Linked DNA regions of Homo sapiens: region 2 is linked to region 1. The links are contacts of gene promoters, found by promoter capture Hi-C in blood cells and fetal thymus (Javierre and others, 2016). All regions are on one chromosome and are shown on one strand. The core of a region is centred on a gene start or on the middle of the fragment in contact, and the rest is flanking DNA. Distances in the headings are between cores, read along the strand shown. Region 1 holds the start of ARL6 (ARF like GTPase 6). Region 2 has its middle 17 kb from the start of GABRR3.

Region 1 (4,137 bases), core at 673-3,172:
TGAGGCTGCAGCAACTTTATCAATAACAGGCTTCCAAGACAACTGTATCTAAAAGGAGGTTGCATAGTCAACATTTTGCTTAGGCCTTTTGGGATATGATTATGGGTAGAAATTTCAAAACTAAATTTCAGTGATGTGCAGAGAAGAGATGGAACAGTGCCATGCCAAAAGGTGAGGCCTATTACAGAACCACGTTTGTCTTTCCCCAAGGATGAGTTTGACCTCAGGTACTTCCATTTGTGCCACTTCAATCTGCTTTTCTCCTTGTATCAGAGATTCAAATCTTATTCAGTCCATTTCTTTAAATTACAGCTTAAGGACCAGCATTTGTAAAATCTATTTTAAATTAACCTTCTGATGTCATGAAGCAATTCACACATACCATTTGATTTCAAAGTAAATTTGCTATTACTCACTTTATTTACTGCATAAACATATTGATATAAATGCTTATATCTTGTTCTCCATTTCATAATTTAGAACTTATGTTTTAAAAACGACAACTTCTCACATTTTCCCCCCTTTAAGCATCTACTATAAAGCACTGAGTGTTTAAAGCCTGATGCTTGAATATTCGTTTTTCACAGTACCTTGTATTGTGACTTTCCATCACTTTTCCATGGATTATCACTTGATACTTGTTAATGAAATATTTTGGGACACACAATTTAGAAGAGCAGGCAGTTTTTCTAAAAGAGGTAATCACATTTATTGAAATTGCTTTATAAACAACTATCATAGAGCCTTTAAACTTCTACGTTTCAAGTAGTTATAATTTTCCTTCCATAAGTTGACTTTCTGCATGCATAAATAAAAGATAATTGAAGCCAGTCAATATTTGTTAATCGTGTCTTAAGTGTGCAGCGAGAGACACAACTGTTTTCTGCAGCTTCCTACTCTGATAGCCATGATTCTCAACCCTGGCTGCACTCTGAAATCAATTGCTGAATCCGAATTTTTGAAAATAAGATCAGGGCATCTGTAGTTTTAAAAGCTACCCAGTGTTTCTGATGTGAAGTTACTATTGAGAACTACTGGCTTTCAGAATAAAGCCAGTAGTTTCAAACTTCCAAGCACAGCTTTTAAGGTTGTCCACAATCTGGCTCCAATCTTCCTTTCTTGTTTCTTATCTTACTGTAACCCTCTCTTTGCACACCAGCCAAATTCTCTTGGTTATTGTCTGACAGACTGTTTCCTAAAGGATTACATATTGCCAGAGAAGTCCAGAAGAATTAGGATGTTATCCACAGTTAACAGCTTAGAGGGTAAGCTGCAGAGACAGAGTGGTAGCCCAGAGAAAACACCACGAATGATACTTAGTAAACTCTGTAAAGTGTTTGTTGATTGAAATGTTGCCTACTTTTATTACCCCAAATAAACATTCTTATTCGGCTTTCAGTTTTTTATGATATAATTTAAATTACACTTACACACACACACACACACACACACACACACACACACACACCCCCAATACACGGGTCTAAGTTGAGCATTGTTAAAACCCATCAACCAAACATACGTCCAAACCAGTTTAGTAAGTTTTCTAGGGCCTCTATAACTCACCTTCTTTTCTACTTCTCATACATTAGCAACAACTACACGCGTGGAGTGAAAAACATGGGAAAGACCAAAGAGGAATTCTAAAACTGACGGGGACAGAGGGTGGCGCTGGCTTTAAAAACCGGCGTTGAGGAGATACCTGGTTTTTGAGGTTAGTCCGGAGGGCGCAGGAGCTGGCAACAGGAATGGACGCACTCGTATCGGTCTCCGGGATGGAAATCTGGTGCGAGGGTCCCTCAGCCTTCTTCTCGATGCCTACATGGGAAGGATGCCTGGTAATGAGCAAAGCCGTCTCTAGAAGTTGGGAAAACCGGCAGCCTCTGCAGCAGTCTGTGCATCAGTCGCTGAGCAGGCGCCTTGGCAGGCACCGTTCCCTTGGCAACAGGAGCTTCTTCCGGTCCTGAAGCCACGCCTCCCCGGGGGTCCTGGCGATTCAGCCGTTGTGCTATAGCTTCTGGGATTGAAGAGCTCCGGGAAAAGGTCAGAGGCGCGCCGAGGAACTATACATTGAAGAAAAATGTGTGCACAGGTGGCAGGGTGAGCTGCCTATTTCCTGCGAGGAGCCGGGCAGTTCCCGGCGTAGCATCATGGGAGTTGTAGGCTCGCGCACAGCTTTCTGGGAAGCGTTTGGCGTTCGCGTGTGCTGCGTGTTTGTCGCTCGGCCCTGGTCTTCCTGGGGATCCAAGAGGCTGGCGCTGGGTGTGGCGCGGAGAGTGTCGTTACCGGGCACCAGCGTAGCGTTGTGGCAACGACTGCAAGACGATACTGTCCCCCCTGGGGCAAGATGTGCGCCGGAGTTCCCCAGTTGCCCATCGCACCGACTCTTCTCTGGGTTCTGATAGGCCTCCCACCCTGAGTCCCTGTAGAGGTAAAACTGTTAATACAGGAAGGTAGAGGGGAGAACTGGTGTAAAAAGTCAAAAGGTGTTATTCGGCTAATAAAGTATGCCTGTACCCCTGCTTCTTAGTTGTGTGGTCTCCCGAAGAGATTTCTACCAGGCATAATCTCCTGTGAGTAGATTACAGTCTCCAGAATCAAATCGGCAGGTGGTCAGGAAAGGTATTAATAGTCAATACTTAAAGTTGACCACCTTCTTAAATTGCACTTGGATTTTATAGTCATAGTCACAAATGGTCTTCAAATAGAAAATATTTAGGCATACCCTTCCCCACATCTTTTATTACTGCGTTTTCCAACGGACACATTACAGATGCAGTCATTTTAAAGATCTAGCCTTTCAATCTGCCCAACTCCACTAACCTCACCCCCAGCGAATGGCCTCATTCTTCAAATAGGGGTTTGTATCTCTTCATTTTTTTTGTTTGCATGGGTGTAGGATTTCCGACCCCCTGCCCCCCACCGCGCGACCCTTTTCAACTAGCTAGTGTATGTTTACTGCACTGCCTGTTCTTTGGCCTGTCAATTCATTTGGCCTATTAAATGGACTAGGAGGGTGCAAAAAGAGACTAGAAGGAATTATTTCAAAGTAATATGGTAGGGGGGACGGTTGTAAGCGTGTGATTATGGGGTGATTTATCTTTTGTCACTTCTCCAAATTTCCAAATGTAATTGTCATTTTTACAGCGAAAAAACAAAAGCGGCTCTGGATTAGTGATTCTTGTTGAAAGACAAAAACAAAACAAAGACCCTATGGATGCATATCAACATATAAATGTCCTTGTAAAAATGGAGTATGGAAATACATTCTTTCTTACTGTGTGGTCTTAGCCCAATTTACCCTTCTCCGTGCTTCTATCCTCACCTTCAAAAATATAGTATTTATCTTATCTGGTAGTTCTGAGTATTAAAGATAACAGAAATACAGATGTTTGGCACATATTTATTGTTCAATAAATAATGTCCTGTCTTCTTTTGTCTTGAGCTTTTTATTGTGTAAACAAAATTGACCCAAACCGTAACTATGGTGGTTCTTTAACTTCTGAACTTCTAATCGTGAATGCATTGACAGGGAGGTGTTGAACACTTTTCTGTGTGCCTGGGTGTTGTGACTTACTTGTAAGAGATGGAAGCTAATGTGCTTGCGGCCAAAATATAACATTTTTTTTTCTTAGCGATCGGCAGAAATGTTATATTTCAGAAAACTTTCATGGACAGACTCAATTTTTCCTGCTAAAAGTTGATATTTTCTGCCTCTAGGTTGAGTTCATCTCTTTTGGCTTAATATAAAACATTTGGTGAAAACTGGAAATAAAATGGACATATTGAGCATCCAACTTTTCAGGAAAACAAGGCAGATAGATAATTCTTCTACAAAAATGTAGCTAGTCAAATCGTTATCTTAGATAAGTATAGTTGATAGATGGCTTATTACTAGAGATAAATGTTATGAAATAAAGCAGTAAAATAATCTAGAAAAAAATGTTAGCCTTGAAAATATTAAACTTAAAAAAACATAAAGGCTGCCAGGCCCGGTGTCTCACGCCTGTAATCCCAGCACTTTGGGAGGCTGAAGCAGGTGGATCACCAGGTCAGGAATTCAAGACCAGCCTGGCCAACATGGTGAAACCCCATCTCCACTAAAGATACAAAAATTAGCCGGGTGTGGTGGCACGT
Region 2 (4,098 bases), core at 599-3,098, 290 kb before region 1:
GCAATGTATTATGCATATGGAAAAATCTTTCTTGAGTATTTTCTCAAGAGAATACTCTCTTGAGTATTCTCAAGAGTCTAAGTAATAAAAGTAAGGAGGTCAAAGTTTGCCTACTCATGAAAGGGCCAGATAGAATATATACACAATGTAGGTAAGAAAAAAAATTAGCTTAATATATTTAACTGACAGTTGATCAAGCACACCTGCTGGTTCAGGCAGGTGTCAATGCCAGAAAACACTATTCAGGTAGGATATGTGTGTCAGGAATGCAGTGCTCAGTAGGACTACTCAATAAATTAAAAAGTAAAAGTTTTAGAAGAACTCAGAAATTTTCTAACTATATTGCAGAAATTTGAATTACTTTTAGTATTTTTGTTGTTACATTTACATATCTTTCAATGGAGGCAATGAAACATGTTACTTTTCAAAATTGCTTTTAAACCAAATGGAAATCTTAGTTTTAAATGTTTTAAGAGGATATGTGTTGTCATATTTGGCCTAACAGTATTATTTTTATTAACATTCTGATATATTATTATAAATATCTGCTAAAGAGAAAGTTTGAAAAATGCCTTGTTCAAGAATTATTTAGAAGTGCATGAATACTTTGAACACTTTTTAAATTATATAGGTGGGGTCTTCCTTTAAATAACTGCAAGTAAGTTCTAAAACATGTATGTCTGTATTTCATGTAGTTCATTCATGTTACAAAAACTTGTTACTAAGTCTTTGTAAAATGAATGAACTCTTGTGTTTCATTCATGTTACAAAAACAGTAATGTGGCATTATAATTTCAGTTTGAACTTCATCCTTGAGTATGTACTTAAAACAACAACAAAAATGTGGTGTTTGTCCTTAAATGCTCATTAACTATTTTAATGATCAGAATAACTTATAACTAAGACAAGAATATTTAGTCTAAATTTTTTTATTCATTCACTTAACATATTGTGTCCCTACTATGTGTAAAACACAGAAACAATTATTACGATTTGTTTTAACAGAAAGGAAATGGAAAGAATTATGAAAGTGTTCTCCAAAAATATTTCTTTATCATTGTTCTAAGTGTACCTAAAACTTCTTTGTTTTTCATACTGTAAATAAAGGAGTCTGCAGAGGAATTATAATCATGTAGAACGGAAAATACATTTCATTCCACTGTTAATCTGGGCCAGACCTGGGGCACCCATACATGAAGAAGACACTGCTATAGAACAAAGAGACAGAGAGCAGGTGGGCACTGCACATGAGGAAGCTTTTGCTTCTGCCCTTCTCAGAATTCTTTTTCAGTAAGGCAAAGAGGACTTGGGTATAAGAAACTATGATGATCATAAAAGCAAAAGCTTGTATAAAAGCAGTGAAAACCACAAAATCACTAATGAGTTAATAAATGGATCAATGTAAGAAATTGTATATTGTACACTGAAAAAATGGTAAGATTTTTTTAAAATACATATTATTTCTTGAGGGTTATAGAGGAGATTCTAGACAAGAACTAACTAGTCCCATAGCCTGCCACTCATAAGTACCTTAAAATTGAATGTATTAACAACGAAGTGTTTTAAGAGCAAAAGGTACACGGTATATTTTATGCCAAAATCTTAGAAAATGAGACTTTGTTTTGGGTTCAAAAGTGTATTTTCTCATTCTTTCAGGAACTTTTTTATCTTTCTAGAACAAAAAATGATCTGATCCTCTTGGTATTACAAACGGGACTATCACAGTCAAGGTGGAATAAAACATTACAAAAACATCATAGTAGAAAGAATGGCCAGTGTTTTGAATATCTGGATTCAATTTAAGTGATAAGTTAAATAGTAAATTATAAATTTTATTTAAATAACAAATTAAATGGGGAGAAAGGATTAACCAAATTAATAGGCAATGACTAACATAAACATAGGTAAGGCAATGCAGAAAAAGCCTCAAGCTAAAAGTGTATCCATGAGTTTTACAAGCCTGGAAAGTAAATGGAAAGGAAACTAAACGAGATCCTGTGGAAACACAGGGTGAAAAAATATGTCTGTATCATCAATACATGTCTTTAATGACAAACTTTGCATAATTCCGGACATAAAATATGTTTTACATATTCAAATCCCTGCCTTGTTGATCTAAAGCAGGAACTACCTACTTATAAAACAGTAGGCCTAAGTATACAACCATTCAAGGGAACATTTATAAGTATTAGATTTACAACTCTTAAGGTTTAATGACAAGGCCAGCCAGTAGGTGTTACAACGTGACATATTTTTATTTCTATTAACTAGTCACCAATTCTGTATAACTGTAGCTAAAGTCTTCACTTCCCAAGTCTGTGCAGGCCTGAAACTCGTTTTCTCAAAGCTTCTGCTTTGTTAACTCAAAATTAAGGCACAATAATGGAAAATTTAAGGAAAAGTTTTAGAGTTAGTGAAAAACAACAGTAAAAATACATAGAACGATTGGGATTTTTAATTTTTAATTTTTTTTATTTCCAAAGGTTTTGGGGAACAGTTGGTGTTTGGTTATATGAATAAGTTCTTTAGTGGTGATTTCTGAGATTTTGGTGCACCCATCACACAAGCAGTGTAGCCTGTAACCTGTACCCGAGGTGTAGTCTTTTATCCCTCGCCACCACCAACACTTTCCACCGAGTCCCCAAAGTCCAATGTATCGTTCTTATGCCTTTGTGTCCTCATAGCTTAGCTCCCTCATATAAGTGAGACCATACAATGTTTGGTTTTCCATTCCTGAGTTACTTCACCTAGAATATTAGTCTGCAATTCCATCCAGGTTGCTGCAAATGCCATTCTTTCATTCTTTCTTATGGCTGAGTAGTATTCCGTTATATCTATCTATCTATCTCACATTTTCTTTATCCACTTGTTGATTGATGGGCATTTGGGCTGGTTCCACATTTTTGCACCTGCAAATTGTGCTACTATAAACATGTGTGTGCAAGTATCTTTTTCATATAATGGCTTCTTTTCCTCTGGGTAGATACCTAGCAGTGGGATTGCTGGATCAAATGGTAGATCTACTTTTAATTTTTTTTTTTTTTTTTGAGACGGAGTCTTGCTCTGTCGCCCAGGCTGGAGTGCAGTGGTGCGATCTCGGCTCTCTGCAAGCTCCGCCTCCTGGGTTGACGCCGCCTCAGCTTCCCGAGTACCTGGGACTACAGGCGCCCACTACCACGCCCGGCTAATTTTTTGTATTTTTAGTGGAGACAGGGTTTCACCATGTTGGCCAGGATGGTCTCGATCTCTTGACCTCGTGATCCACCCCACTAGACCTCCAAAAGTGCTGGGATTACAGGCATGAGCCACCGCGCCCGGCCTACTTTTAATTTTTTAAGGAATTTTCACGCTGTTTTCCATAGTGGTTGCATTAGTTTGCATTCCCATCAACAGTGTAAAAGTGTTCTCTTTTCACCACATCCACGTCAACATTAATTTTTTTTTCTTTATTCTTGCAGGAGTGAGGTGGTATCGCATTGTGGTTTTGATTTGCATTTCCCCCATAATTAGTGATGTTGAGCATTTTCCCATATGTAAGCGGCATAATGTATAAAATTCCATAATTGTGGCTGAATAGGAAAGCTCAATCTATTAAAACTTAACTTTCACAAATAAACATAAATTTCATATAATTTTATACAAAATCATACGGAGGTAATTTGTCTAGAAAATTCTAATTTATCTGGAAAAGCAAATGTGTAAAAAAAAAAAGCCAACATAATTTTTTTTTTAAAAAAAAAGGAAGTTCATGTTCCATGCCAGATATTGCAATTTATCAGAAAGTTACTTTAACAATTGAAACCATGTTTAACGTCATCAAGGTTCACTGTGGGTATATTCACTAAAATTGGAGCGTCTGTTTATAGACATGGGGAAGGAAAAATAGCAAAGCTGATTAAGAGCACAGACTTTGGAAAAGGCAGTTTTGGTGGCTTTGCTTCTGAGACTTTGGTCAAATAACTTAAAATGTCTAAACCTTGGTTTCCTCACTTGTGAAATAAAGTTAATAATGTGCACTTACAAAGTTGTTGCAAGAATCAAATGAGAAGATGAATGTCAAGCCCTCACCCCTGTACTTGATAGATAGGTAAGGAATCA

The links. Contacts are between HindIII fragments. The CHiCAGO score rates a contact against its expected background, and 5 or more counts as called.
Region 2: a fragment that was not itself captured here is called in contact with the fragment with the promoter of ARL6 in region 1 in 8 of 17 cell types (activated CD4 T cells, total B cells, naive CD4 T cells and 5 more); the score reaches 8.5 in activated CD4 T cells.

Annotation. Positions count from the first base shown.
Region 1 is chr3:97,762,543-97,766,679 of GRCh38, reverse strand. It overlaps ARL6 (ARF like GTPase 6), which reads right to left and starts at 1,922. Exons shown (of 8, transcript NM_001278293.3): 1 at 1,703-1,922. RefSeq lists enhancers at 1,765-1,874, 1,590-2,089, 1,915-2,454, 2,090-2,591. The HindIII fragment of the contact is 6,880 bases long and covers 1-4,137 here.
Region 2 is chr3:98,050,689-98,054,786 of GRCh38, reverse strand. It overlaps the pseudogene OR5BM1P. Among named protein-coding and RNA genes, the nearest start is that of GABRR3, 17 kb to the right of the region's middle. The HindIII fragment of the contact is 1,003 bases long and covers 1,347-2,349 here.